Regions from separate parts of the Homo sapiens genome. Here all the other regions are linked to region 1. The links are contacts of gene promoters, found by promoter capture Hi-C in blood cells and fetal thymus (Javierre and others, 2016). All regions are on one chromosome and are shown on one strand. The core of a region is centred on a gene start or on the middle of the fragment in contact, and the rest is flanking DNA. Distances in the headings are between cores, read along the strand shown.

What was found. The method cuts DNA at HindIII sites, captures the fragments that hold promoters and counts their contacts. A CHiCAGO score of 5 or more calls a contact.
Region 2: a contact is called between a fragment that was not itself captured here and the fragment with the promoter of ZAP70 in region 1, in 1 of 17 cell types (erythroblasts). The highest score is 5.4, in erythroblasts.
Region 3: a contact is called between a fragment that was not itself captured here and the fragment with the promoter of ZAP70 in region 1, in 2 of 17 cell types (erythroblasts and endothelial precursors). The highest score is 5.5, in erythroblasts.

Annotation. Positions count from the first base shown.
Region 1 is chr2:97,710,469-97,715,085 of GRCh38, reverse strand. It overlaps ZAP70 (zeta chain of T cell receptor associated protein kinase 70), which reads right to left and starts at 1,510. Exons shown (of 14, transcript NM_001079.4): 1 at 1,412-1,510; 2 at 1,092-1,170. RefSeq lists an enhancer at 729-1,702 and a silencer at 3,676-3,865. The HindIII fragment of the contact is 8,251 bases long and covers 1-2,551 here.
Region 2 is chr2:98,173,789-98,178,414 of GRCh38, reverse strand. All of the region lies in intron 8 of VWA3B (von Willebrand factor A domain containing 3B), which reads right to left. Among named protein-coding and RNA genes, the nearest start is that of VWA3B, 89 kb to the right of the region's middle. The HindIII fragment of the contact is 3,877 bases long and covers 93-3,969 here.
Region 3 is chr2:98,203,526-98,208,317 of GRCh38, reverse strand. All of the region lies in intron 12 of VWA3B (von Willebrand factor A domain containing 3B), which reads right to left. It also overlaps the pseudogene ATP5F1BP1. Among named protein-coding and RNA genes, the nearest start is that of VWA3B, 120 kb to the right of the region's middle. The HindIII fragment of the contact is 1,262 bases long and covers 2,666-3,927 here.

The DNA of each region.
Region 1 (4,617 bases), core at 261-2,760:
TGAGGATAATGAGGGTTTTAGTGAGACCTTTCTGCAGCACCTGTATGTGCCGGGCAGTGTGGATACAGTCACTCTCTTTATCCTCCCGAGAGCCCTGGGAGGGAAGCACAGAGAGATGCGGTGACTGGTCCAGTCACACAGCTGGTGAGTGGCAGAGCCAGAATGTGAAGCCAGGCCCCCAGGCTCCAGAGTGTGCACATCAACACCACCCCCGCAACACTGCCAGGGCAGTGGGGCTGAGGATGGAGGGCAGGTGTGAAGAGGAAAAGGAAGCTCTGGATTCAGCAGGAGGCAGCTTCACAGGTGGCACCTTAGGAGTCCCTGACCCTGATCTCTCAGCAAGGCATTATTAAACACCTCCTGTCTGCCTACTGTTCCAACCAAGACGAGAGTAATGAATCATCTCGAGCTGCTCACCTCATGAACTCCTGTTCCTTCCTGTCGGGGATGCTTCCTACCTGGGACACATTTCCCAGCCTCTCGCCAACAGTCAGGAACCAGGCGCCTGCCAGGTGCCCATATCTGCATGTGCATTTAACAGATGCACAAACTGAGGTCAGAGAGGCCAAGCAACTTGCCGAGAACACACAGCAGTTGAGGAGAACTCGGTGTTTTGCTCTTTCTCTCTCCAGGTCTTCCTCTAACCTGAGCTCGCCTACAAGTGGCTCAAGCCTGCCCTGGACTCCTCACAGGAATCACAGCATTCTGCTGATGGAGCTCACGGCCCTGGTGAGCAGCCCCCTCATCTTCACAGAGTGCACATGCGCTTTCTCTGGAGGTTTCTCTGCCTCCGAGAGCCAAGGATGCAGCCAAACAGGGCCCAGCAGGAGCCCAGGGACTGAGCAGGCCTCACCGTGTCCCCTGAACAGCCCCGCTCGGCCAAGCCTCTGGAGGGGGAGCTGCTTCCCTCAGCGTGGCCACAAGCCCCGTCTGCCTCCATCTCCAGCCAGTCACCACCCAGCCCAGTCCTCCAGCTCTCCTGGTCCTCCCAGCAACCTCCTGACTCCCAGTTAATATTCTGTCTTCCTCCTCCAGACACAGCCCACCATGGAGACGGTGGCCAGGTGCCACTCCACCCAGGCACCACTTACCTGGGGACGTACAGGTGGATGTCCAGGCAAACAGGCCACTTGCGGGGTCTCTGGTCCCAATGCCAATGGAGAGCCGGTTCTGGGTGAGGAATCGGGGCTTACAAAGCCGGTTTGGATTTCCCTGCAGCCCAAGCCCCCAGCCTGAGAGGGAGGCCCTGCCGCTCACACTCTCCGCACACACCCCGGGGGAGGATGTCACACCCCGCCAGGGTTTCTCACTCATGGATGGGGGGGGTTCATCCTCTGCCAGGTCTCCCAGAGCCCCCTGGGGTGGCCCTGGTGGCAGGACACAGGCAGAAGGCCCGAGGACAGCCGCTTACCTGAATGCCCCAGCAGCAGCTCTGAGGCCCACGGTGGGCCAGGCCTGCCCGGAAGGCCTGGTGTCTGCTGAGCTCCGGCAAGCAGGCTTGTCTGAAACTAACCTATTTCCTGGATGCGAAGACAGGAAAGGGGGCTGTGTTTGATGTTTACATCAAAGTCACAAAGTGCTGTGCTCAAGGAAAATCACAGGCCACGTGCTCCAGGGAGGCAGAGGGCATTTCCGGGGCCCAGCACTGCCTGCCCAGCTGCAGGATGGGACTGAGAGATGGGAATGAGGCTAAGCAAAGGCAGGGTTTCAGGAAGGACGACTCCAGCAGCAGGAACCGTCAGAAGGGAGGAAGCCTGCATACCTGGAACCGGAGGGTAGGCAGCAGTGGTGGGAAGGAGGGGAGTCCCAGGGCTCATGGAAACTGGAATGCCCCCATTTTCCCCTCAAAGGGGCGTCGCCCTGGGGCCTGCACCAGCTAGACAACCCAGAGGAGTGATTTGTTTATTCCACAGGCAGGTTAGAGCTGGAGGGAGGAGAAACCCACTGAGTCAGCCCATACCCCGAAGGTGAGAACCCCTTCTGTGCCAGGCATCTGGATGGCAAGGACAGCCTGCCCTTGCTCTCCAGTGGCTCGCAGGCTTGTTGGGGGCAGCTGAGTCCACAGGGAGCCAGGGCTGGGAGGCCGGAAGCCTGGGCACTGTGTGTCCCCAGAGTATCCCCAAGCCAGCCTGGAGGATGTCAGGGATGCGTTCCAGGAGGAGTCAGCCACCCAACCGAGACACAGAGCCAGGGCATCCCCAGTGCTAGCCCGGCCCACCTGGGACCTTTCCCACGAAGCTGAACCTGGCTGAGTGCCATCCCGCTGTGGCCACCACCTCCTCCTCCTCTTCCTCTCCTCCCTTCCCTCACCCTGTGCACCCCCTACCCTTGGGCCTGGGGCCACACCTCATGCACTCTCTCAGAGAGGGGCCTGCAGAGCCACTCCCTCGGCTCCATCTCCCCTCTAGTGCCCCAAGGCCTCTGGGAGCCCCTTGCCCACCACCTCCTTGCTTTCTTGGGCACTAAGGGAGTCGTCACAGCTCTCCTGTCTGTGGGGCCTCAGAGACCTGTGTGGAACTGCCCTGGGCCCACTGTGGAGACTCCTAAAGCTTTTCTTCTTGGGGTCCTGCTGCCCTTGTTAAGTGGGCTTGTGATACCCTACCTTGTTTTAACCTGAATTGACTCTCCCTTAGCTAAGAGAGCCAGACAGACTCCATCTTGGCTCTTTCATTTGCAGCCCCTTACCCACCCCGCTTCCTCAAGGACTTAATTTGTGCAAGCTGACTCCCAGCACATCCAAGAATGCAATTAACTGATAAGATACTGTGGCAAGCTATATCCGCAGTTCCCAGGAATTCGCCCGGTTAATAGCACCCAGAGCCCCGGCGTTTGTGTCCGGTTGATAACGCCCAAAGCCCCGTGTCTATCACCTTGTGATAGATTTTAAGCCCCTGCACCTGGAACTGTTTGCTTTCCCGTAACCATTTATCCTTTTAACTTTTTGCCTGCTTTACTTCTGTAAGATTGTTTTAGACCCCCACCTGTCCTTTCTAAACCAAAGTATAAAAGAAAATCAAGCCCCTTCTTTGGGGCTGAGAGAATTTTGAGCACTAGCTGTCTCTCAGTCGCCAGCTAATAAAGGACCCCTGAATTCGTCTCAAAGTGCGGCGTTTCTCTGTAACTCGCTCGGTTACAACAGGCTCAGCTCCCCAGTCTGCCTGAGGATCCCCTCACACCCTACCCCGAAGCCTCCTTGGGGACCTCCTTTCTGGCCCTCTACTATCCTCTGGCCGCCTGAATCCCCTTTAGAAAATCTGAGTTCCGGCTCTAGGCTACTTTTCTCCTTCATACAGCCCCCTCCAAAATGGTGTTTGCTAGCAGCCTCCCTTTTCCCCAGCGGCATCTTGAAACTCCAGGTGCAGCAAGCATCCCTTCACATCCATGCTGGACGCTCATTTCTTGGAGTATTGAGAGAAAAAGACACCGGCACCCTGAAGAGAGGAGAAATTACAGCATCAAATCACATTCATACTACAATAATGAGAGTCGCACTGATTATGTGCCAGACATTGCTGTACGCACATCACAATTAATAAGCCATTCAACCTATTTTCCAGATAAGGTAAGTAAAGCCCAGAGAGGTTAAGAGATGCCAAGTGGCCAGGTGGGATTGCAGCCCAGGCAGCCTGACCCCACCCACGTGCTGCTGGACATAAAAGAAGAAAACTTTGGTTGTAAAATATCTCCCCGAAGGAGGCCAGCGCCCCAGGGAGCTGGAAGCTGAGCCAGCTATGGGACAGGGTGCCTCTGTGTGGGTGGGGGGCTTCCAGTTTCCAGGGTCTTCAGGTCCTGAGAAGGGGATTCCCAGCCTCTGCAAGGCACTGGCCCTACAACCCTTGAGCCCCCCACTTCCTGTCCCAGAGGCTGGTCTGGAAACTACAAAGCCCAGTGCTCAGACAGCTCTGAGATTGGGCTACAGATAATCCGAGATTGGCATGCAGATAAGGTCCTCTGTTCTGCCAGAGTGGAAGGAGGTGGATGCATCTTTTGAATGTTTACAGTAAAGGGCAAACGGATGGAAATGTGGGCTAGGAAAGTTGCGGTGCCTTTGCCTCATCGGGTTGGGGTAAACATTCACTCTACTCATGCCAAGAGCCTCGAAGAAATTCATCAGTCACCCCCATATCCTCAGGTCTTTGCCCACACCTCTTCACCTGCCTATTTCCTAGTCCTCTTTCAGGTCTCCAATTAAGCGTGTTTTCCTCCAGGAAGGCTTCCCAATCCTCAGACCGGGCAGGGATGGGCTTTCTGTCCATTTCACCTGGAGCTGAGCAGGTCCAATCTGGCTGCACAGTTAAGAGAACACAAGCCACTGCTGGGAGACGTGCAGCAGGGAGATAGGGTGGAGGCTCCAGCAGGCCCGAGAGGAGATACACCCCAGTGCAATGAGCCCCAAAGGAAACAGGTCCATCCAGGGCCCCTCCTGGATTCCCTCTGGGTGTACAGAAAAATGGTGACTTTTTTTTTTTTTTTTTTTGAGACGGAGTCTCGCTCTTTCACACAGGCCGGACTGCAGTGGCGCTATCTCGGCTCACTGCAAGCTCCGCCTCCCGGGTTCACGCCGTTCTCCTCCCTCAGCCTCCCAAGCAGCTGGGACCACAGGCGCCCGCCACCGCG
Region 2 (4,626 bases), core at 782-3,281, 460 kb before region 1:
CTTCATGAGACCCATGTCCTTGAATTTTAATAGAACACCATTGAAAGAATTCACTCTGAAACCTACTAGAGTGGGGACTTCTCAAAGAAGCTTGTTCTGGATTTTGAACTTTAAACCAACCTTGCATCAAAAGCCCCTCAGAGCAGCATCCCCGACACCTGGAGCTGGCTTTTCCATGAATCACAAAACATTTTTTCACGCTTCTCCGGGAGCTCAAGCCAGAGGCTTCTCAGAGCTCCGAGTCCCTGGGGTTCGCCTGCACACTCTCTCCCATCACAAAGAAGCAGCAAAAAGAGGATGCCGCCATTTCTGTCAGGGAGATCAGCCTCCTTGGAGAAACCCTTGGGGTGACATTTTCTTCAATTATTATTAATTATATTCCCATTCATTGTGTTTCTGCTTAGGAAGACCTTTCCTTTTCTCCTCTCCCTTTTTTTTCCTGATCAATAGGTGCAGTAGGAAATTAAATTTTCATTCAATTATTTCCATAGCAACACACACCTTATTATACCCTTCTGCTCTGTTTTGGGCTGCCTTCTTTTAAAAAAGTTAAGAGCCCTCTATCAAGTATAAATTCAAGTGTACCACAGAACTTCCTAAAAACACATTCGAACCAATCCTCGCAAGGGTTTTGAAAGAGTCAGAGACTAACTTCTGACTCCAACTTCACAGTGGACCAGGCGGTGCAGTCCTGAGGGCAGGATTCAGGCTCCCAATTACCATCTGAAAAGGGGGTTCAGGCAAGCCGCCAGAGCCACCTGAACTTTCATAGAGGAAAGAAAGGATGACCAAGCAATCAAAACCAAAGAACCCAGGCACTCTAAAGCTAAAGAAAGGAGAAAAAAAAAAAGGAGGGAAATCTTTTAACTTCCAGTGCTAATTACACCAATTAGTGGCTGAGTCTCATTTTCCTGGGAGGGGCAGGGAAGGGCATCATCCATTCACTAGCGTCACTTACTAAGGGGTCCTTTCCTTTTCCCTGCAGTTATCTTAATTAAAAATGTTACATGAATTCTCACCCACAGAGAATTCATTTATTATAGAAGTATGAGCTCACAGCTAATCCTGATTACATGGCTTTCCTATTCCACAGGACAGATTGCTAAAGATGTTCTTTCTGTTATGAGAAGGGAGCACATCTATGCCACAGAATTGACCAGCCCTGTCCTCCCCATCCCACTTGTCAATCTCAGAACATTTTTCAATGAAAAAGACCTACTGGGAAAATGCTTTTGAAAACCATCCCTGCTATAGCCAGGGCCACACACAAATAGATAAATTGGGCATAGGTATCAGTGCCCACTCCTCTTCCTGTCCCTCATCCACCCACCCTCCAGGTTCAGCTCCAGAGGGGCTCACAGCCATCAGGGATTTCTCACCACCATAACTCTCTTCTCCCAGCCTCCTCCACTGAATGTTACTTGCCTGGCACCTCATTCCTGCCACGCTAGCCCCACATGCCTTTCAGGGGGGCTGTCAGCGTATGAATAAACTGGAACTCTAGACCAAGTCTGATGTTTCCAAGAGTGGGTCCCACAGAAACTGCTTCCACTGCATGTCAGTGGCTTCTACTCAGGAAGAGGGCTCCTTAGACAAAAAGTTTGGGGAGCTTGAAAGGAAAGTTTCAAAGGATTCTTGATCACAGGACTTCTGTAAGACTTTCTTAGGGGAATGGGCAGTGGGGCTTACCACAAGCAAGATTCCCAAAGCTATTTAGCCCCAGAGTCTTTCTGCATAGAACATTTTAGAGGGCTTGTATTTGAGAGACCATAACCCCTGTGATCATGGGTGCCATGAGACAATGAACAAACTCTTGGCCACCACATGGGGAGTGGTACAGGAAAAGAATGCTGTGAATTAGCTGAAAAGGAAGGCAGAAGGAAAGAAGGAAGGAGGGAGGAAGAGAAAGAAGGGAGGGAGGGGAAGACCGAAGAAGGGAAGGAAGGAAGGAAGGAGGGAGGGAGGGAGGGAGATGTTTGGTATAATATGGAACAATTGAGATTAGGAAGTGAGACAGGATTGATGGAGTTAAGGAAATTTAGACTGAGTGACCTGAAATTCACATGTTAAGTGGTGATGATGAGGGAGGGAGGGAGGAAAGGAGGGAAAGATAGAAGGGAGGGAGGGAGGGAAGGGAGGACAGAAGAAAGGAAGGAAGGAAGGGAGGGGAGAAAAGAAGGAAGGAAACCAGAATTGAGGACAGCTGGGAAAGGAGGGAGAAACATAACAACTGTCAGGAAAAGAAATGTGGTCTCGCCTGCTGGTGAGATGAGTGAGGTTTCAGCCCTGTGAGCCGGTTCAGCATGGAGCAGCTGCAAGGGCTGTGGGTTCTCTGAAGGTAAGATGAAGCCCATCCCAATCTGAGATCCGGGAGCCAGGTGGCGACAGTGTGGTGTGAGAGAGAAGCTCGTCTCTGAGCAGTCAAGCCCTTTGCTGCAGTTGCTAACTAAACCTGCTGTCAACCTACACTTGCTAAAGTACCATGCAATAAGCATATCTGCCTGGCACTGCAGGGGAGCCAAGAAATGGGGAGGAGGGAATGAAGGAGATGGAGGATGGTAACCCACCAACATTCTACCAAACGGATTCATTGTGGAGATCAGGTAAATGTTCTCTGGAGCACCCCACGGGCTTTCAACAGCTTGATTATAATGTGTCTAGGTGTGGGTGTCTTTTATCCTACATGGAATCCATTTTGCTTCTTGGATGGGTAAATTAATGTTTTCATCAAATGTAGGGAGTTTCCAGCCCTTACATCTTCAAATATTCTTTCTCTCTCTCCCCCATCCTTTGGGGACTCCCATTGTTCACATGTTGTTATGTTTATGGTATGCCATTGGTCTCTAAGACTCTGTTTGGTTTTTTTCATTCTTTATTCCTTTTGTTCTTCAGACTGGGTAACCTCAATTGAGCTATCTAAAAATTCATTGGTTTGTTCTGCTTTCTCAAATCGGGGTGTTGAACCCCTCTAGTCAGTTCCTCATTTCAATACTTTGTACTCCAGAACTTTTTTCAACTACAGAATTTCTATTTGCTTCTTAAATAAAATTTCTCTCATTATTGATATCTCTAATTGGTAAGACAGTGTTCTTATACTTCCTATGTTCTTTAGACATAGTTTCCTGTAGTTCTTTGACATATTTAAAATCGCTTATTTAATATCTTTATCTAGTAAGGTCAATGTCTGGGCTTCCTCCTGGACATGGACAGTTTCCTCATGGACAATTCCCTCATGGACAGTTCCTATGGATTGCTTTTTTTCCTTTGTATGGTCCATACTTTATTTCTTTGCATGCCTCATTTTTGTTGTTGTTGACAACTGGACATTTTAAATAATAAAATGCAGCAACTCTGGAAATCAGATTCTCCCACCTGCCCAGAGTTTGTTGTGATTTGGTGGTTGTTTGTTTATCACTCCTGAATTCTGTAAAATCTGCATTCTTTATCATTTGTAGCCACTGGAGTCTCTGCTCAGTTAACTCAGTGGTCAGCTAATAATTGAACAGAGATTTCCTTAAATCTTTTGGACTATTCCTTGCTGAGGAGCTGTGTGTGTATCAGGCCACACTTTCCATGCTGTAGCAGTTAACAACTCTCCCTCAGCCTTTACTTCCTGCTTGTGCAGAGCCTCAGGGTCAGCCCAAGATGAGAGCTTAGGGCCCTCCTGAGTCTTTTTTTGAACATATGCATAGCCTGGGCATGCCCACAGCCCTGTGCATGTGCCTGCCTGGGCTATGCATGATAGATTCCCAGGAATACCTCAGAGCTTTGGAAAGACCAATGGACATCCCATTCCCCAGTTTTTCATCTTAAGTGTTTTGGTTTACCTCTTGTTTGTCCTGACTGTTATCTACAACCTTAGTCAGCCACAAAATTAATCAATCACCTCTCATTGTTTTTGACAACGGTTCCCAGGGAAAAGGCTTTTCCCACTGAGGAAGAACTGAGTGAAGTCAAATAAAGAAAGCTTTGTAACTGGGGTCTTCCAGAGAGCCAGTGAACAGGTCACATAATGAGAATTATCTGGAAATGAAGCTTTGAAGGAACTCCAACCCCATCCTGCCCCCTCCAGTGGCTGTGAGCCTGTGGTTTCCACTGTGATCACAAACTGTTCGTTTTTAAGGTTAGTGAGGAGCTGGAGCTGGGGAATGTGAATAGGACTAGCTAAAATGCCACCAGCTCACTATTCTTACTGAGATTTAATTATTTTTCTTGAATAAACACTTCCCAGATTGCTGCACACCTTGGGTTAATTTCTAGAGTTATGAAAAAGGTTGATTCTGATAAGGTCCTTATGCCTTCTATGAAGGAGAAGTTTTGAAGGTCCTTAACTCTGCCATTTTTGCCCAGGTATTTTTGGTGTTTCCATAATTAGGGGTCCAAATACACGAAATATAATTCCTCAATAGATTTGTTGTGCTTTTCCACAGTCATTTTTTTTTTCTTTTGAGACAGAGTCTCGCTCTGTCGCCCAGGCTGGAGTGCAGTGGTGCGATCTGGGCTCACTGCAGCCTCCGCCTCCCGAGTTCAAGCAATTCTCCTTTCCTCAGCCTCCCGAGTAGCTGGGACTACAGGCGCCCGCCACTACACCCAGCTAATTTTTGTATTTTTAGTAAAGATGGGATT
Region 3 (4,792 bases), core at 2,047-4,546, 490 kb before region 1:
AGATTGAAGAGTGAACAAAAACATGACCCGATTTATGCTGTCTACAGGAAACTCACTTCAGGCATAACAACGTAGATAGGTTAAAGGTAAAAGGATGGAAAAAACGTATTACGCAAATATTTAATTTTAAAAAGCAAAAATAAGTATATTAATATTATATAAAGTAGACTTTAACACAAAGAAAATTTACTAAGGACAAAAAGGGACATTAGGATGATAAAATTCTCTATCCACCAAGAAGACAATGACCCTAAATGTGTATACATCAAACAACAGAGCTTCAAAACACATGAAGCAAAATTTGATGGAGATGAAAAGAAAAATAGATAAATCTATTTTTATCTACTTTATAATAGAGTTGTAATAGATAAAATAGGTAGAGTCTTATGGTTGGGGTCTTCAGTACACCATTCTTTTTTTTCTGAGGGGTGTACATTGTATTGGAAACCTTAAATACTCTTCAGATAGAACATGTTTTCAATCAAGGTTCTCATGTGGCTTACACCGAAACCTGAAGCTGTTTGGATTAGGGGAAGGAGAGGGACAGTACAGCAGATGAGTGCTTAGTTTGCCAAAAAGACCCCTCACAATAAGTGCTCTTCAGCCAGCGTATCAGCTTCTGCCAAACCTTCTTCAATGGGTTCCATCACTGAAGGCCCGTTCTGAGAGATGGTCATGTTCACCTATCAAAATCTGCTGAAATCCTTTAATGGTCTCCTTCAGGAGTACTGACTTCCCCATATGACCTGTGATGACCTCAGCAGCCTGGAATGGCTGAGACAAGAAACGTTGTATTATCCACATTCAAGACACAGTCAACTTGTCTTCCTCAGAAAGTTAATCCATACCCAATATGGATTATGACAATAACGTATGGAGGGATTTGTAGCCATGCAGAATCTTTTGCACCCCACGGGCAACATCATTATGCTCATTGCCAACAATGTTGGGATCCATGATGTGAGAGATGGAGTCCAGAGGATCCACATGTAGATAGATGCCCAGCTCAGTGACAGCATGGGGCAGCACAGTGGTGGCATCCAAATGAGCAAAGGAAGTAGCAGAGGCAGTCGAGTCATCAGCAGGTACATAGCCTGTACAGAGGTGATAGATCTCCTCTTGGTAGTGGCAATTCTTTCCCCACATCATACCCACCATGTCAGTGGCCAGGGTAGGCTGATAGCCCACAGCAGAAGGGATTCTGCCCAATAAGGCAGACACCCTTGAGCCAGCATGGGTGAAGTGAAAGATATTATCAATAAACAGGAGTACATCTTGAACTTCTTGGTCTCTGAAGTATTCAGCCACAGTCAGTCCAGTCAGAGCTACCTGGGCATGAGTAGCATGTGGTTCATTCATCTGACCTTACATCAGCATTACCTTGGAGGTAACATTTTTTAAGTTGACAACACCAGACTCAGTCATTTCATAATATAAGTCATTGCCCTTACAGGTCCTCTCAAAAACACCAGCAAACCCAGATTAAGCACCATGGGCTTTGGCAACATTATTGATTAACTCCATGATGGGTACAATCTTGTCAACTCCAACACCACTAAAAAGCCCAATTTTGCCACTCTTGGCTAGGGAGTGAGGAAATCCACAACTTTGATACTAGCCACCAGAATTTCTTGCTCAACGCTAATTTCCATGAACTCAGGAGCCTCAACATAAATGGGAGCAAACTGTTTCATTTTGATGGGACCGCTTTCATCAATAGGCTCTCCAATGATGTTCATGATTCTGCTCAAAGTCTCAGGACCAACAGGACTTTCGATTGGTGCACCAGAATCCAGGACTTTCTGGCCTCTAAACAAGCCTTCTGTACCATTCATAGCATAATCCTTACTGTGCTCTCACCCAAATGCTGGGTCACCACAAAAACCAGCCTGGTCTCCCTGCCTTGTACTTGCTGGGCATTTAAAATAGATGGTAGTCCCTCATCAAACTGGATATCCACTACTGCATCAATGACCACCACAATACACCCAGTGGTGGTGCCTGTCTTCAGCAAAGGTGATGTTTGTGCCCATATTTCCTGGTAGATTGGATTGCTGCCAGAGTGGCCCATGGCAAGACCTGAGCTTGGAGTAGCAACACTGACGGGCTGAGTTCCTGCAAGGCCCTGGAGGCTGAGGCAGCAGACATGACCCACAGAACTCAACATGGTAGAGTTTGGGTGGAGACTGAGTGTTGCCCAATATCCCGCTCTTAATGATTGACAGAACAACTAACCAATCAGCAAGGACGGAGAGGAATTGAACAATACCATCAACTAACCAGATCTAATTGAGATTTATAGAATACTCCACCCAACAAAAGACTGCATATGCTTTTCAAACAAACATTGAAAATGTGCATAAATAGACCATATCTTGAGTCACAGAACAACATTTAACAAATTTAAAAGATTTGAAATCATACAGAGTATGCCCTCTGACTATAGTGGAATCAAAATAGAAATTAATAACAGAAAGACAACATGAAAATTTCCACAAACACTTGGAAATTTTAAAACATGCTTTGAATAATTCATGGCCCAAAAGTTAAATCACAAAGAAAATTAAAAATTAAATAGTACTGAATGAAAATTAAGCTGTTTTGTTTAAAATTTGTGGGATGTACCAACATAATTCTGGCAGGAAAATTTATGGTACTAAAAGCTTACTTACAATAAAATAAAAATATGCCAAAACTATAATTTATGTTCCTACCTCAAGAACCTAGAAAAATAAACTCAAGAGCAAAATAAACTCAAAGCAGGCAGAAAGAAGTAAATAATAAAGAACAGAAATTAATAAAATTCAAATAGTAAAACAATAGAGAAAATTGATAAAACAAAAGGCTGGTTGTTAAAAAGAATCAATAAAATTGACAAACTTCTAGCAAGATTTGCAAGGTAAAAAGACACATATTACCAACATCAAGTACAAAACAGGGCCTATTACAACATCTCTTGCAGTCACTGACAGGACAATAAGAGAATATTATGAAAAACTTTATGCTCATAAATTCTACAGTTTAGAAAAAAATGAACACTTTTTCAAAAACCACAAACTACCAAAACTCTACCAAGATGAAACTGACAACCTGAATAGTTCTATGGTTATTAAAGAAATTGAATTTGTAATTAAAAAGCCCCTGAAAAGAAGTATCTGTGTCCATATGGTTGCACTAGAGAATTAATTCATTAATTTATTTATTTATTGAGGCAGAGTCTCTCTCTGTCACCCAGGCTGGAGTGCAGTGACGCCATCTCAGCTCACTGCAGCCTCTGCTTCTGGGTTCAAGTGATTCTCCTGCCCCAGCCTCCCAAGTAGCTGGGATTACAGGCATCTGTCACCATGCCCGGCTAGTTTTTGTATGTTAAGTAGAGACGGGGTTTTCCCATGTTGGCCTGGCTGGTCTTGAACTCCTGACTTCAGGTGATCCTGCCTGCCTTGGCCTCCCAAAGTGCTGGGATTACAGATGTGACCTACCGTGCCTGGCCGCACTAGAGAATTTTATCAAACATTCAAAGGAGAATTAACACAAGTTTTACACAATCCACTCCAGAAGATAGAAGGGGAGGGAATACTTCCCAACTCACTCTATGAGGCCAGTATTACACTGATACGCAAAGCAGACAAAGACAGCACACACACAAAAAGCCTACAGACCAACATCTCTCATGAACCTGGACACAAAAGTTCTCAACAAATATTAGCAAATTTAATCCAACAAAGTATAAAATGAATAATACATCATGACCAAGTGGCATTCTATGTATTCAGAGTTGGTTCAAAATTTGGAAAAAAAATCATATGAGCATATCAATTTGCACAGAAAAGGATTTGGCAAATGCAACCTTCATTCAGTATAAAAATTCAGTACATTAGGAATAGAATGAAACTTTCTCAATCTCATAAAGAGCATGTACAAAAAGCTTGCAGCTAACATCATACTTAATGGGAGAAGACTGAATTCTTGCCCTTTATGATTGGGAAAAAGGCAAGTATGTCTGCTCTCAACATACCTATTCAATGTAGTACTGGAAGTTCTATCCGCTGCAATAAGGCAAAGGAATAAGTCATAGAGGTTGGAAAAAACAAACAAACAAATACTACTGTCTATTTGCAGACTACCCAATTATCTACATAGAAAATCCTGAGAACTACAGTTGTCCCTTAGTATCTGTGGGGGACTGGTTCCAGGATCCACTCCCAACCCCATGGACACCAAAATCTGAGGATGCTCAAGTATCGTATAAAATGGCATAGTATTTGCACATAACCTATACAATCCTCATGTATACTTTAAATAATCTCCAGATTACCTATGATATCTAACAAAATGTAAATTCTACATAAGTAGTTGTTATATCTTTTAAGTTTTGTATTATATTTTATTGTTGTATTGTTATGATTTTTACCATTTATTTTTCCCAAATATTTTCAATCCATAGTTGGTTGAATCCACAGACACAGAACTTGCAGATATGGAGGGCTTACCATACACAAAAAACAAAAAGCGAAATAGTACGTAAGCCTACTAAGGTCAAAAGATGCAAAGTCCACACATGAAAACCAACTGCGTTTCTACACACTGACAACAAATAGGTGAAAACCAAAATAAAAAGTGCAATACCACTTACAATTGCTCCAAAAAATTACAATACTTAGTATATACTTAAACAGGTACAAGAGCTGCATGCTGAAATTATAAAATTCTGATGAAATAAATCAAAGACCTAAATACTCAGAGAGACATACTGTATTCATGGAATAGATGAATTAACACAATAAAGATGCCA